2 separate regions of the Homo sapiens genome follow, and region 2 is linked to region 1. The links are contacts of gene promoters, found by promoter capture Hi-C in human tissues and cell types (Jung and others, 2019). All regions are on one chromosome and are shown on one strand. The core of a region is centred on a gene start or on the middle of the fragment in contact, and the rest is flanking DNA. Distances in the headings are between cores, read along the strand shown. Region 1 holds the start of VIPR2 (vasoactive intestinal peptide receptor 2). Region 2 has its middle 7.8 kb from the start of LINC00689.

The links. Contacts are between HindIII fragments. The study calls those that stand out against the background at their distance.
Region 2: a contact is called between a fragment that was not itself captured here and the fragment with the promoter of VIPR2 in region 1, in 4 of the 25 tissues and cell types used here (H1 embryonic stem cells, bladder, liver and 1 more).

The regions. Positions count from the first base shown.
Region 1 is chr7:159,143,273-159,147,410 of GRCh38, reverse strand. VIPR2 (vasoactive intestinal peptide receptor 2) reads left to right here and starts at 2,544. Exons shown (of 13, transcript NM_003382.5): 1 at 2,544-2,690. The coding sequence starts at 2,640. RefSeq lists an enhancer at 1-746. The HindIII fragment of the contact is 14,641 bases long and covers 1-4,138 here.
Region 2 is chr7:158,998,391-159,002,621 of GRCh38, reverse strand. No RefSeq gene overlaps it. Among named protein-coding and RNA genes, the nearest start is that of LINC00689, 7.8 kb to the left of the region's middle. The HindIII fragment of the contact is 6,196 bases long and covers 1-4,231 here.

The sequences.
Region 1 (4,138 bases), core at 1,295-3,794:
AAAAAGATGCGTTTGTCGAAGGCACCCAGCGCCACGAGCTTTCTTCACAAGCCAAGCAGCCCGCCTAAGGCCCAGGTCTCCCTCTCCTCGTCTCCCACTAGATACACATGGATGAAGCCAGATAGATAACAGGTAGAGGATAGATGACAGGCAGATGACAGATAGGCAGATGATAGATGATCGATAGATGACAGGCAGATGATGGATGACAGGCAGATCACAGATATGATAGATCACAGATAGATGACAAATAGGCAGATGATAGATGACAGGCAGATGACAGATAGGCAGATGATAGATGACTGATAGATGACAGGCAGATCACAGATATGATAGATCACAGATAGATGACAAATAGGCAGATGATAGATGACAGGCAGATGACAGATAGGCAGATGATAGATGACTGATAGATGACAGGCAGATCACAGATATGATAGATCACAGATAGATGACAAATAGGCAGATGATAGATGACTGATAGATGACAGGCAGATCACAGATATGATAGATCACAGATAGATGATAAATAGGCAGATGATAGATGACAGGCAGATGACAGATAGGCAGATGATAGACTGATAGATGACAGGCAGATGACAGATAGGCAGATGATAGATTGATAGATGACAGGCAGATGACAGATAGGCAGATGATAGGTGATTGATAGATGCCAGCCAGATGACAGATAGGCAGATGATAGGTGATTGATAGATGACAGCCAGGTAGATCACAGATATGCCGGATCACAGATGATGGATAGGCAGATGATAGATGACAGATAATAGATGATAGATTACAGATAGACGATCGATAGGAAGATAATAGATGATAGGTACATGACAGATCATAGATAAATGACAGAGAGGTAGATGATAGATGATAAATAGGTAGATGGTAGGTAATAGATAGGTAATAGATCGCAGAGAGATGATAGGTAGATGATAGCTGATTGATACATGATACAGAGATGATAGGTACATGATAGATGGATAGATCATAAATGACAGCAGATGATAGATGATAAATAGGTAGATGACAGGTTATAGATAGGTAAATTACAGATGAAAGATAGGCAAATGATAGATGATAGGTACATAATAGATGGATAGATCATAGATAATAGATGACAGGTAGGTGATAGAGGAAAGGTGGATGATAGATGATAGGCGCATGATGATAGATACCTGACAGATGGATAGATGAAAGGTAGATGATGGACAGGTAGATGATAGATGACAGATAATAGATGACAGATTACAGATAGATGATCGATAGGAAGATGATAGATGATAGGTACATGACAGATCGATAGATGATACGTAGATGATGGATAGGTAGATGATAGATAATGTGGATGATAAACATCAGATGATAGAAAAATCGATATCTGTGAATACGGGGGGTGGGGGATCAGAGAGAAGCAAATGATAAGCCCAATGAGGTAAATGTTAATGACCGAATCCACAAAAAGGATAAAAAGGAGTTATTTGTAATATTCTTATTCTTCTAATTTTTGTGTAAGTTTGAAATTATTTCCAAATAAAAAATTAAAACAACACGAACTTAACTTGTATCTCTCATTCCAGTGCTTTCCACTTGCTGGGGAACGCCGAGCTCTCCTGGGTTGGTCACGCGGGCGCCTTGGGAGGCCGCGCAGTCCCGCGTGGGGCGCGGCGGGGCGGCCCCAGTGGCACCGCGTGAGTCCCCGCCCAGCGTTCCCCACCCGCCGCCGCGTTTGCGGGGAGAGAATGACCCCCGTTTTGCAAACGCAGGACACAAAACCCGCCACCCAGCTGAGGCTGGGACCCACCTATACCCCCGTCTGCGTTTTTCTCCAGCTTTCTGTTCGACCTGATGTCCTCTTTGAGGCTGCGGGGATCCCCACCAAAAAGCACTCTGATTTTCTCCATTTTCAGATGCCCCAACCTAGCCCCACTGGCTACAAAGACGGCGCGCCCACCCCGGACGGGTCTCTGGCCGCTTTCTTGGGCTTCCGCAGTTGTTTAGAAAGGCAGGTACAGGCGGCCGCAAAGGCATCCGCCCCTTCCGAGCGCACACCTGGCCCGGTCCTCCTCTCCCGGCCCCGCGCCGGCCGCTCTCCCCCAGTTCTCTCTACTCGGAGCCGGGCGCGCACTGAGCACCCCGCTTCCCAGCCCCTCCGCCCACAGATCGGGGAGGCGCGGCCGGGAGGGGGGCGTGGGCCAGGGAAGAGGGGAGGAGAACGGAGAGAGAGGCTGGGGGGGTCGAGGAGACCAGAGGGAGCGCGCGCGGCGGGGACAGAGAGCCCAGGGGCGAGGAGAGGGCGCGGGGCGCAGCGGAAGGGGAAGTGGGGGGCGGTGAGGAGGGGCGCGGAGCGGGGGTTCTCGGGGGAGGAGGGAGACGAGGATTGGGGCAGCGCGGGGCGGGGACAGGGGCGGGGGGCGGAGCGGCGGGGCGCGTGGGGGACGGGCGTGCATTGAGCGCGCTCCAGCTGCCGGGACGGAGGGGGCGGCCCCCGCGCTCGGGCGCTCGGCTACAGCTGCGGGGCCCGAGGTCTCCGCGCACTCGCTCCCGGCCCATGCTGGAGGCGGCGGAACCGCGGGGACCTAGGACGGAGGCGGCGGGCGCTGGGCGGCCCCCGGCACGCTGAGCTCGGGATGCGGACGCTGCTGCCTCCCGCGCTGCTGACCTGCTGGCTGCTCGCCCCCGTGAGTGCGCCCGCGACCCCCGCCCCACGGCGCCTCGGACCCGGTTCTCCCCTTCCGAGAAGAGCGCTCCTCCCGCCGGTCTTCGCCTTCCTCCCGGGTGCTGGAGCGCGGGCGGGGTCCGGGAGAGGGAGCGGGGTCGCCCGGGGTCCGGAGCTTCCTCCCGGAGAGCGTGAAGCGCTGAGCTCCGGTCCCGCCGGGTTGCGGGACTCGGGTTGGGAGGCTGCCTGCGCCCTTCCCCGCGCCCCACCGTCCGGGGTTTGCTGGAAACGGGATCGTTTCTTCCTGGACGCGTCAACGATGAGCTCGTTCGGGGCCGTCCCGGGAGCTGGGAGCTGCGGGCGCCTGCGCGGGCTGCGCGTTTCACGGGGAGATCGGGGTTGGCGTTGGCCGCAGATGCCTCTCGGTCCCTCCCTGTACTTACTGGTTAGTTTTAGTGTCGGGGGGACGTGGCGTCGGTTAAATAAAGTTTCCTTTTGGAAATAGTTGCTTTTTCCCAAGGGCACTGGAGGAACTAACTGCTCATAAGTTTGTTGATTAAGTGCCTTCGCACATGGAGTTCTGAATTATTCCCTCTGTGAACCTTAAAAAAAAAGGAAAGAAAAAAGAAAGAAAAAAACCCGAGCCTTGTTTCTTGCTTTCCTCTTGGAGACTGAAGCGGGTTTGCGGTGCGCGCGGTTTTCGTGCGCGTCGCAGCCGAGGCAGGTCTGGATCGATCCGCGGCCCCTCCGCAGCTGGGAGGCTGCGCTGCTGACCCGACAGTGTCATTGATTAACCGGCGACGCCCGGTCTGCAGCGGGGCTCGAGCCACACTCCCTGGCCTTGCGCGGAGGCGCAGCTCGGCTTTCCTCCCTCGAGGGTGGGCGCTTTGCGGAGCGGGTCCTTGGAAAGTAACGGGTTTTATCACGGTTAATGCTGCTTTCATTGCTAAAATGTCCTAAAAGAAGTCATTGCTGTGCATATTCCAGGAACGTCAGGTATTATTAATGTCTTTTACACTTTAACAAAGTTTTTCTTTTTACATCAATATAATTTCCTTAATTCTGAAATTTAAGCCACTTACTTGTCCTGCATGAAAACAGAGGACTTGGAGCCCAAAGTCAGTGCCTGGTGCTGGTTCAGTCACGAGCAAGAAGCAAGCTCGGGGCTCTTTTAAATGGGGCTGAAGGTGGCAGAAGTTCCAGCATTGTTTTCCCCTTAATTCTGTTAGGATATTGTGTTCCTGGTTGGAACTCTCATTGACCATTTCAATAGTAAGATAACTAAACATAGATGGCCATAGTACGCCCAACAGTATGATTCTCTTTAGTTACTACTTTAGTACAAGTAGAATTTTGGTCGGTGGTGGGGGAGGGGGAAGATCAAGACCAAAAGGATGGGTGGGGGGAGCCCTCCTTAAGCCCCCAAGGGCCGCTTGGCAGGCCTGTGCTGACTTCGCGGAGGGCGTGAAG
Region 2 (4,231 bases), core at 520-3,019, 140 kb after region 1:
CTTACCAGACGGGGCGAGGGAGGAGCCCTGCTCCACGCGCTTCTCCGGCCACAGGGTCTGAACCTTCGGGCATGTCTGCTTAGAGACGTGGAATTCTGTCAAATGAGCCCCCCTAGAAGCTTCCGGTGAGAATCTGTCTAGAACTGTTGGGTGGGCTGTGGTTTGACTTAACCATCTGCATGTAGATAAATTACCATTTATATGTGTGAAGAAGGTATCCATCCAGTGATGATCCAACACGTGCTCATCACATACCATTAAATTTTCAAAAGTAACTGGTGTAGCTAATTATCTGTCTCAATCTGGCAGCCTCTGAAGTGTCACTTACAATTTGTGCACTCAGCTCATAAACCTGAAGTATCCGGATGCCCAGTGCTAGGTCAGATGCCCAGTGCTAGGCCAGATAGCCTCTCATCCTTCTGAAATGAAAGTTTGGAATTGTGGTGCCACAGAGAAGGGACCCTCGGGTCCGTGGTTGAGACTGAGCCTGTGGAAGCTCAGAACTTGGCGATGAGCGGCTGCAGTCACGGGAGCACAGGCACCTTGAGCAGGAGAGACCTAGGGACCCCTTTGTGCAGCCCCTCCTCACACGGGGAGACGGGCAGCCCTGGAGGTCGGGGGTTGGGGCTGAGGCCACCCACACACATGGGCTCTCCTACCACCTTCTCCTCCTGATTCAGGACTGAGGAATCCAGGAACCCTGGGGAGCTCACAGGCACCAGGGACTGAGACGCTGCAAGGGCATCAGCCATCGACCATTGGACAGCCACCGCAGTGAGCAAACCCCAAAGTCTCGTGCTAAGAAGAGACTTCATTTGGAGAAGTGAATTCTGACAATACTCCACAAACAAAGTTAGGACAGTTGTTCAGGACAGCAGCAGGGAGGCATCGAGTGGAAGTGAGGAGGAACCGGCCTTTGTGGAGCTCCAAGCTGCATAAAGTCTCCCAAATGCAAAGTCTCGCTCCAGTCAGCAAAGTTCAGAGCAGCTCTCTCCAGCATCTTCAGCCACTGCCAGGCAGGCCGGCTCTCAGCACGGGTGGTAAACTTTCTCATTTTCCTCATGCCAAAAATACATCATTTCCAAAATAGAAAAATGATATTGTTCAGAGGTGAGGCAGGTGCGTTAGGAAAGAACAAAAACAGGCCTTATTGGATATGACAAGAAGTGCGGCCCCTTTCAGAAGCAAACTAGAGAACCTGAGCCAGGAAGGACGTTGCATTTGCTGAGTGGCCGAAAGCTGTCAGGGGTCGGGGCATGCAGAAGACGTCCTGTTATTCACTTCTCAGAACAGACCTGTGAGTAAAGAACCACATTTCATAGATTAGGAAACAGCCCCGGAGAGCCTCGGTGACGTGCACGAGGTCCCCAGCTCCGCGGCGGGTGAGCCAGGCTCCAAGCACCGGCTTTCCTGGCTGCACTTCCTGGAGGGACAAATTTGGGGATGAGAAGGAAATGAGGGCCTGGCGGGGTCTCTAGGGTTTTCATTTTGTGTCTTCACATAGGTGGCGAATTTGAGAAACTGTAATGGACGATTTTACTCTGATGAGCTCTAGAGGGGGTTGCTGAGAAGCGAGGCCTGCGTTTTCCTCCTGACGAGGTCTGGGCGGGCAGTTGTCTCCTACCTTTTGTACTAATTCACCTGGTGACACTGTCAAAGGAGAGAAAACCACAGGTTAGCAATTCCCACTATATTCATTCCAAACACAGCCCATCGTAATCTAAAAAGCCATCAGGGCCATCGCAGGGCTCCATGTTTCCCTGGGGATGTTACTTCCTGCACACTGACCAGCAGATGATACTGACAACACTTTGCAGCCTCAACCCGTGATAACGGGAAAAAGATAAAATAAAGAGGCTGGACATGGTGGCTCACACCTGTAATCCCAGCACTTTGGGAGGCCGAGGTGGGAGGATTGCTTGAGCCTAGAGGTTTGAGACCAGCCTGAGCAACAGAACAAGACCCTAGCTCTTTTAAAATAACTAAAAGAGTGTAATTATATTGCTTGTAACACAAAGGATAAATGCTTGAGGGGACGGATGCCCCATTGTCCATGATGTGATCAGCACGCATTGCATGCCTGTATCAAAGCATCTCATGTACCCCATAAATATATATGCCTACTATGTACCCACAAAATTTAAAAATAAAACATTTTTAAAGAGAGAAAAGAAAACCCACAGGGGGCAGGCACAGATTCTGGCTGCCTCTGGCGCATCCACATGGATGTTGGCATTTCATCCTCTTCTCAGAGAAAGCAGTTGGTCCCACCTCCACCCGCTGTCTGCGGAGGGGTTTGGACTCTCAGCATCTTGGCTATGCTGGCACTCTTCCCTGCTCAGGGAGCCAGCTGTTCCTGGACCCCTGCTAAGAAGACCTAACCGTGGATGGCGTCATGATCGCCAGGCCGTCCCCCGTTCTTTCACCCTCTCGGGACCTGGAATTCCATCTTGCTTCCCTATTGTGTCTGTCCACGGGGCCAGTCACAGGGCAAGTACTCAACACGTATTTGTCAAATGAAGGAATACATTGTACGAAGGAAAAATCGGAAAATGCCACCTCTGAAGATTGGAAATCAGAACTAACAAGAATCCAGGTGAGACATTGAGCTCAGCAGGAGGTTTCCCAGCAGTGTGTTCTCTGTGAAAATGTGACTCACAAGGCTGCCGGGTGGGGAGCGGAGGGGCTCCGAAATATCATCTGGGAATGTGAAATGATCAGTAACATTAGCAACGATCCGCTCAAGACTGAGCCAGGACAACAAAAAGTTTTGGTGGCTGATGAGGGTCAGTCAGGAGCGCTGGGTAGAATGGAGCTAGCCACCCGCTGGTTTCTGGCATTGGACAGAAACGCTAAGCCAGGGGTTCTCCTCACAGGCCCAGGGGGAGGAACGAGCACGGGGCGGTTTGAGGAGGGAAGATGGGGCGGAGCCCCAGGGGCAGCCTCGCGCATTGGGTCCGGGTAGTGTGATCCCAGAGCCTGCGTCTTAGCACTGTGCGGCCTCGCCCTTCTTTTTCTTCCACCTGTGCGTGGAAATAGAGCACGAACCCAGGAATGCAGACACCAAGTCTCTCCACCTCGAGACGCGCATAGCACACAGAGCTGCAGAGGCCACGCAGATAAACCACCAGCACTCCAGACTGGGCAGGAGCCGCTGTCAGGACAGAGGACACCTATCCACACCCGCCTGGCCTCAGAAGATCCTGGGTCAAAGAATAATTCTCTTTTCATGTATATGTGTTGAAAGAATTTCAGACTAGCAAGCAAGCCGTTTTGACTGTTTCTTAAGATACGTAGGGAGTTTGTTCTTTCTTTATTAGCAGAAAGCCACGTTTTAAGGATTAAATTTTTTCCATAAGAACGTAAGGAAAATGTGGTGAAACAAACACCTTCTGTTGGTCAGGGAAACACTGGGTACCTTCAACGTGAGGGGCTCCTGAAGACCTCCTGAGAACCACACAATGACCCAAGACAGGACCTCAGCTGCCTCTTGAAGGCAGAGGGGAGGCTGCACATTTTACAGGTGATCTGGACGTTGTTAGATGCTACAAATAAGAGCCAAGGAAAAGATGTTAAGCGTCTGCGTGAGTCAGGAAAACCTGGAGCGTGAGTGGAATCACTGCTTCCTGACTCGTTCCCTCGCCATAGGAAATGGCCCTGGGCAGAAAACAAGCCCCTGAGGAGGGGGGAGCGTGGACGCACGTGGGGAGTGTGGAGGGGGGTCCCCACTGAGGAGAGGGGAGCGTGGATGAAGGTGGGGAGTGTGGAGGGGGGTCCACACTGAGGAGAGGGGAGCGTGGATGAAGGTGGGGAGTGTGGAGGGGGGTCCCCACTGAGGAGAGGGGAGCGTGGATGAAGGTGGGGAGTGTGGAGGGGGGTCCCCACTGAGGAGAGGGGAGCGTGGATGAAGATGGGGAGTGTGGGGGGGGGTCCACACTTAGGAGAGGGGAGCGTGGCACACGTGGGGGTGTGGAGGGGGGTCCCACTGAGGAGAGGGGAGCGTGGATGAAGGTGGGGAGTGTGGAGGGGGGTCCACACTGAGGAGAGGGGAGCATGGATGAAGGTGGGGAGTGTGGAGGGGGGTCCCACTGAGGAGAGGGGAGCGTGGATGAAGGTGGGGAGTGTGGAGGGGGGTCCCCACTGAGGAGAGGGGAGCGTGGACGCACGTGGGGGGTGTGGAGGGGGGTCCCCACTGAGGAGAGGGGAGCGTGGATGAAGGTGGGGAGTGTGG